Linked DNA regions of Homo sapiens: region 2 is linked to region 1. Evidence: promoter capture Hi-C in human tissues and cell types (Jung and others, 2019). All regions are on one chromosome and are shown on one strand. Each heading gives the region's core, a stretch centred on a gene start or on the middle of the fragment in contact. The rest is flanking DNA. Distances are from core to core; before and after follow the strand shown. Region 1 holds the start of SLC22A31 (solute carrier family 22 member 31). Region 2 overlaps BANP (BTG3 associated nuclear protein).

Region 1 (3,259 bases), core at 417-2,916:
GCGCAGGCCCCGAGCTCCCGAGCGGCGGTTTCAGAACCCGCGGGTCACCCGGGAGCTCCTCCCGCAGTACCAGCCGAAAGCTCCCAGCGCCGAGGAGGGCGGGCGGCTGCCCTCCCCGACCTCGCCCCGCCCGCGCGGACGCCCCCGGCCCCACGCGGGGACCACCCCGGGACGCCGGCCGGAGCCCGCGCGCCCCCGGGCAACCTGAGTGCACCTGCGCCGCGAGGGCACCTGAGCGCTCCCGGCCACGCCCCTGCCACGCCCCCGGCCCCCACGTGCCGCCCTCACGGGGCCCCGCCCCCTCGCGGTTCGGCCGCAAGCCCCGCCTCTCAACCTTCCCGCCCCTCAACCTCCCCGCCCTATGCCCCAGATCGGGCCCCGCCCCTTTACGCCTTAGGCCCCGCCCTCACACCGCCCGCCCCCACACCCCGCCTCCACTGGACTCAGGCTCCGCCCCTTAATGCCTCGCCCCAAAGCCCCGCCCCAGGAGCCCGCCCTGGTCCAGGCCCCGCCCCGTCCCGAGCGCAGCCTGCGACCGATGGAGCAGGAGGCGCGGGTGCTGAGAGCTGCGGGCGGCTTTGGCCGGGCCCGGCGCCTGCTGGCCTCCGCCTCGTGGGTACCCTGCATAGTGCTGGGGCTGGTGCTGAGCTCCGAGGAGCTGCTTACCGCGCAGCCCGCGCCCCACTGCCGACCGGACCCCACGCTGTTGCCCCCAGCGCTGCGCGCCCTGCGCGGACCCGCGCTGCTGGACGCCGCCATCCCGCGCCTGGGGCCCACGCGAGCCGCGAGCCCCTGCCTGCTCCTGCGCTACCCCGATCCCGCGCCCTGCACCCGCCCCGGGCCCGCGCCCCGCGCCCGCACGCAACGGCACCCGGCCCTGCACACGCGGCTGGCTCTACGCGCTGCCCGGCGCCGGCCTCCTGCAAAGCCCGGTCACCCAGGTGCGCCCCCGTCCCTGCTGCCCCGCAGCCCTCCCCGCCCCCAGCCCGCCGAGGCCCTGGGTGTCCTTTCTCCATCCTACCTGGCGCCTCTGACCCGGGCCCCCCGGCCGTCCTCCTGGGCTTCCTGCTCCGGGGCGGCCGCCGGCCCGACGGTGCCGCAGACGGGCGCGCACGGGCCGGACCCGCGGAGAGGGGCCGGGCGGGGGCTGAATCTGGGCCTGGGAGCTGCCAGGCGCGGGGCGGCCTGGGGCGCTGGAGGATTGGAGCCGAAGGCGCCGGTGGGGGAGCAGGGCCTGGAATTTGCTTCAGGACCACCAGCGTCTTCAGCAGACCGTGGCTTTGGGCTGGCTTTCCAAGGCAGAGTCTCTGCTTGGAGGGACTGACGTGGTCAGCACAGACTGGGGAAGGTGGGCTTCCCATCAGTGAGGTGCGCAGAGGCTGGGCTAGAGACTGCATTGCCTGAAGGGAAACCTTGACGATCTGCGTGAGAAGAGATGGGGAGGCGGGCGGCAGGGACCTCCAGGCCCCTTTCATGCCTTTCCGCGCTGGGGCTGAGACCTGCACACCCCTGAGGCAGCCTTTACCCCGAGGCCCCCATCCCCCATCCTGGGAGGACTGGCCCCAGTGTGGAAACTGGAACGGGGTTGCCACATCTTCACAAGGGCTGCCTGGGGCCCTGGAACCCGCCGGGCTTCTCTCTCCACCCTGCTCCCTCCCACCTCCCACCTGCCCTCCTCCTGTTTGGTGCCTGGATCCAGGAATGCCCCATCAGCTTTCCCAAAACGTCAGGTTTGAAAGTAAAATCTCGGGCATAGCACGGCCCCCAGCAGTAGATTAAGCTTGCCAAGAAGACCCAGGAACCGGAAGGGGTGGGGGGAGGCGCAGAGCTGAGGTCAAGGGTCAAGGGCCTCACCGGGAAATGCCGCTGAGCACAGCTCTCCAGCCGCTGCCCGAGTCCCTCTTGAAATGGGCAGGGCAGGGAGGGCGTGGGTACCAGCGCAGGTGCTGGGGTTCATTTCTTAGGCCTGTGTCATGGCTATGACCCTTGGCCGGCTGGGGTGGGGGCTGTGTCTATGACGCCACCAAGGCCCTGGGTGTCCCCGGGGTCCCTCGGAATAGGAGGTGGAAACGGGTCGGACAAGAGCTGGCCGTGGGGGAAGAGCAATGGTGTGCGGAGGTGGGGGAGGCCCTATCTAGGGACAAGCAGAAAACTTAGGGTGGGCAGATCCCCCCGACCCCTGTGCAGGGGCTGCCGGAGACCAGAGAGGCTGCTGTGTGACCTGGACCAAGCCCCTTGCCCTCTCATGCCTCAGTTTCCCCTTCTCTCCACGGAGGGATTGAGCAGGACATGGAGGGCCCCTTCCAGTAGCCATTCTGGGACTCCCTGCACCTGTCCCCAGGGGAGGGTCCTGAGCTGGCCTCCACGTGGCTGCTGTTCCCCATAGTGGAACCTTGTGTGTGGAGACGGCTGGAAGGTCCCGCTGGAGCAGGTGAGCCACCTCCTGGGCTGGCTGCTGGGCTGTGTCATCCTGGGAGCAGGCTGTGACCGGTGAGGCCCCTTCCCTTTTCCTGCTGCCCAGCAGCCCTCCCCTCCGCCCACTCTCAGGGTTCAGCTAGACCTGGTGCTGCCAGGATGAAGGTTGGACCCTGGGTTATCCTGACCCTGTCCAAGCATGTCCCCCGCTGCCCACCAGGTTTGGACGCCGGGCAGTTTTTGTGGCCTCCCTGGTGCTGACCACAGGCCTGGGGGCCAGTGAGGCCCTGGCTGCCAGCTTCCCTACCCTGCTGGTCCTGCGCCTACTCCACGGGGGCACATTGGCAGGGGCCCTCCTCGCCCTGTATCTGGCTCGTGAGTACCCTGGGGGCTGCTGTCACTGGGGGAGGGGCAGTGGGTGGCCCGCAGGCCTCTGAGGCTCCCTTGCCGAGGGCCCCGAGCTGCAGGGACAGTGAGCAGTGAGTCCCTTGGGCATCCCGCTCCTGGGCAGGTCACCAATAGGTCCCCGCAGTTCCCAATGGAACTGTTCCAGTCCTCCCCGAGGCCTCCACTTCAACCTGTCTGTGTCTGCCCAGGCCTGGAGTTGTGTGACCCTCCCCACCGCCTGGCCTTCTCCATGGGGGCTGGCCTTTTCTCGGTGGTGGGCACCCTGCTGCTGCCCGGCCTGGCTGCGCTTGTGCAGGACTGGCGTCTTCTGCAGGGGCTGGGTGCCCTGATGAGTGGACTCTTGCTGCTCTTTTGGGGGTAAGTGTGGTGGGAGCTGGGCCAGCAGCCCTCATCGGGGCTGACTATGTAGCTTCCCTCTGCACCGACGTATCCCATG
Region 2 (3,259 bases), core at 519-3,018, 1.2 Mb after region 1:
TCCCTTCCCAGCCTGTCCCACAGCAGCCCCCTGGGAAACCTCCTTCAGGGGCCCTGGCCTCTGGCCTTGTCCCTTCTTCCGTGCTCCTCCTCCCGCTGGTGCCAGGCGTGGAAGGAGGCAGAAGGAGCTGGCGCGGAGGAGCAAAGCCCTGGAAGGAAGGAGCCCAGGCCCCTCCCGTCCAGGGAGCTGCCACACCAGCCCAGGCTGCCTGCCTCAGACTTCCTCAAAGCAAAGGAAAATAAACAACTACCTGGTTCAAAACAGGGTATTCTGGAGCCCACCACGTGCAGCCAGACTAAACCCAAGGACATGCCGAGGCCCTTCCACAAACAGCCCCGGGTCCAGAGAGTCCAGGTTAAACTCCTGCCTCTCTTAAGGGGCCAGTGGAAATAGTTTTAAATGCCCAATTCAAGCTTTTTGCTAGTTTCTAAAAGCTCTGCAAGTGGCTTCAGAAAATGCTCTGAACTCACCATAAAATCCTGAATCCTAACCTCTTCCAAATGAGGACACCACACATTATTCGAGTTGTTTACTCAAAATGCCTCTGTTGCCAGGATCAAGAGTCATTTAAAATTCTGCTAACAGTAAAGATTTCAATAGAAAAAACTAGGGCAACAAGCCCAAGAAAACTGGAACACAGCAATGCCTGTGGTTGCTATTTTGGCAAATTAAATTTGCCATTTCTCAGAAGTCCTGGGGATAGTCCAGTCTTAATACAATAAAACAGCTGGACTGAGACTAATGCTCAAGCAAGCCTCTTACTCTGACGACTATTCAGAACCCTACCAAGTCCACCAAGAGATGCAGGGCTCAGGGCGCATATGGGAAAGCAGGGCCTACAGCCCAGAGTAACACCCTGAATGTACAGCAGAACAGGAGTGGTGAAGAATCCACGCCCATCCAGATTGCCAGACACCACCAAGTCATTCACATGGATGAGACTGATTTAATTACATGAACCAAAATGGAAAGATCTCCAGAATATGATAGCAAAAGGAAGGCATACAAATGGAAAGCTGCACAGCGGTGCGGATGATATGATCCCAATTCTGCTTCCTAAACATGGTGTCCACGTGTGGTCATCTGTCCAGGTGTGCCAACACATCCAAGACAGTTGGGGATGACAAATAGCAAACCTCAGGCTACCCAGAGCAGGGACGCTCCAACTGCACGAGCCCCACTCTCCTGTCCACTCCGCCCTCCTGGACTGCTGAGCTTTCCATAGGCCTTATTCCGTAGGCCTTACTTATTTATTACCTGTGAAACTGTTTCTACAACCAAGTGATGTGTCTACAGGCAAGGCCAACTACATCAAATCTTGATAAACTTTACAGAACCATCTTTAACCTGGCCTTAAATCCACTTCTCAGCCACCAAGGCATGGGGACCCACACATTCGGGCAGGGATGGGGAGAGAATCCACATCCAATCAACCTCAGGTGCGCCTGATGCTGCAAGCCCCGCCCAGCCCCGCCCAGCCCCGCCCAGCCATGCGAACGCTCCCCTACTCCTGGACCCTCTGCGCCTCGGGCTTAGTGGGTGATCCTGCTCTCCTCCCTCTCACTTCCCAAGAATGCCCACTCCTGCCTCCTCGGGCATGTGCCCCACACCCAGTCAGCACCCCTCCCTGGTCCCTCAGCATCACCCTTGCACACCCTTCCCCCACGGTGCTGCCCTCCCTCCTGCCCCTCCAGCCCCAGCCCCATTTCTCTGTTCCCTTTCAGATAAAATTCCTCAGAAGCCCCGCCTGTACTTGCGGTCTCCATTTTCAGTGCTCACATCCCCTCCAGATCCCACCCATCGGGCTGTCACTCAGTTACTCCCCCAAAACTGCTCCAGCCCAGATGCTGCCCCCATTCTCCCCACCACAGGGCCTGATGGGGCTCATTCCGGCTCCTCCCCACGCTGTCCTCCCTGCCTGGCCCCCACTCCTCTGTCTCTCTGCTGGTCCCACATCCACTTCCTGACTTGAGGATGCATGCCCAGGGCACGGCCCTGGAACCTTTGCTCAGCCAGCACTGACCCAGCGGCTCATCAGTCTGTGGCTTCAGATACATCTCCACGCCAATGGCGCCTATCACCCTGCCAGCTCAGACCTCGCACATGAACTCCAGGCCTCACACCACACCACCTACTAGGTGTCTCCCCTAAGGGGTCGTCTCAATTCTAACATGTCCAAACTGAGCCCCTGTCACCCACCCCAAACCAACCTGCTTCTTCCACACTTTCCACCTCAATTTAAGGCAACACCTACTTCCCAGATGCTCAGGCCAAAACCTCAGGCCTCCTGGGTTCTCCTCTCCTTCACCCTGATCCGGCCTCGTCTTCCCAGCCTGTCACTCCCAACCTGGACCCAGGCCGCCCCTCAGACCTGCTCACATACGGCCGTCTCACTGTCACCTGCACCTCTGCTGTGATCACGATAAAGAGCGCTCAAGGCGTCACATAAAAACACGTGCCAGGCTATGCCCCTCATCTGCTCTAAGCCCTCCGAGGGCTTCCCATCTCACGGGCCCTCTGCAGCCCCTGGGGCTCTCCTCCCCGCCACGCTCACTCGGCCCCTGCATTTGGGCCTCCCCATGCTTCTCAGGGATACACTCAGCTCAGGGTCCTACCACGGAGCTGGCCACCCCTGCACGCCTCCTGCACGCCTCCTGGACGCCTCGGCAACGGTGACGTGCACAGCAGCCTTTCCTGCTCTACTGTCTGACTTACTACACATCTGAAAGGTTTCTCTTGCTTAGTGTCTCCTGCTAGAAGGTGAGCTTCACAAGGGCAGGAATTGGCATGGCTGTGTTCTCAGCAGGGCACCGGGCCTGGCCCGCACCGCATCCAGTGAATACGTCTGTGATGAGTCCAGTGAGAACACACCACTGACGTCATTCCCCAATGCACAATGATGAATGTCAGAAATGCTATTTAAAAACCATGGATTAAGGTTTTCAAAGTGTGTTGTGCCCATGTCCTGATTTCAATAAGGACTGTGCTATAATTAAGTTACTAATCTAACTACTCAGTTCATGAATGTGGAATCAGGGTGATTGACACATCTGATGAACAGTGCCCATCCACTGTCAGCAAAGGCTAACGGTAGCTGGTCATCAGGAGAAACGGACAGCTGCAAAAGTATTTAATTTTGCTATTACTATTTCAAAAATATTGGACACCCATAAAACAAAACCACAAAGCCATTAAAAGAGGACTAAAAGGAAACCCACTGTAACTGGGCAGAAAACTTGGCTTTAACAGTCAAAGTTAA

Evidence for each region. Contacts are between HindIII fragments. The study calls those that stand out against the background at their distance.
Region 2: a fragment that was not itself captured here is called in contact with the fragment with the promoter of SLC22A31 in region 1 in 1 of the 25 tissues and cell types used here (dorsolateral prefrontal cortex).

What each region holds. Positions count from the first base shown.
Region 1 is chr16:89,198,944-89,202,202 of GRCh38, reverse strand. It overlaps SLC22A31 (solute carrier family 22 member 31), which reads left to right and starts at 1,666. Exons shown (of 9, transcript NM_001384763.1): 1 at 1,666-1,725; 2 at 2,387-2,490; 3 at 2,636-2,790; 4 at 3,012-3,180. The coding sequence starts at 1,702. RefSeq lists a silencer at 510-599 and enhancers at 892-1,514, 2,763-3,259. The HindIII fragment of the contact is 13,129 bases long and covers 1-3,259 here.
Region 2 is chr16:87,963,835-87,967,093 of GRCh38, reverse strand. The region is part of intron 1 of BANP (BTG3 associated nuclear protein); the gene reads right to left. Among named protein-coding and RNA genes, the nearest start is that of BANP, 14 kb to the right of the region's middle. RefSeq lists an enhancer at 1-113. The HindIII fragment of the contact is 6,313 bases long and covers 1-3,259 here.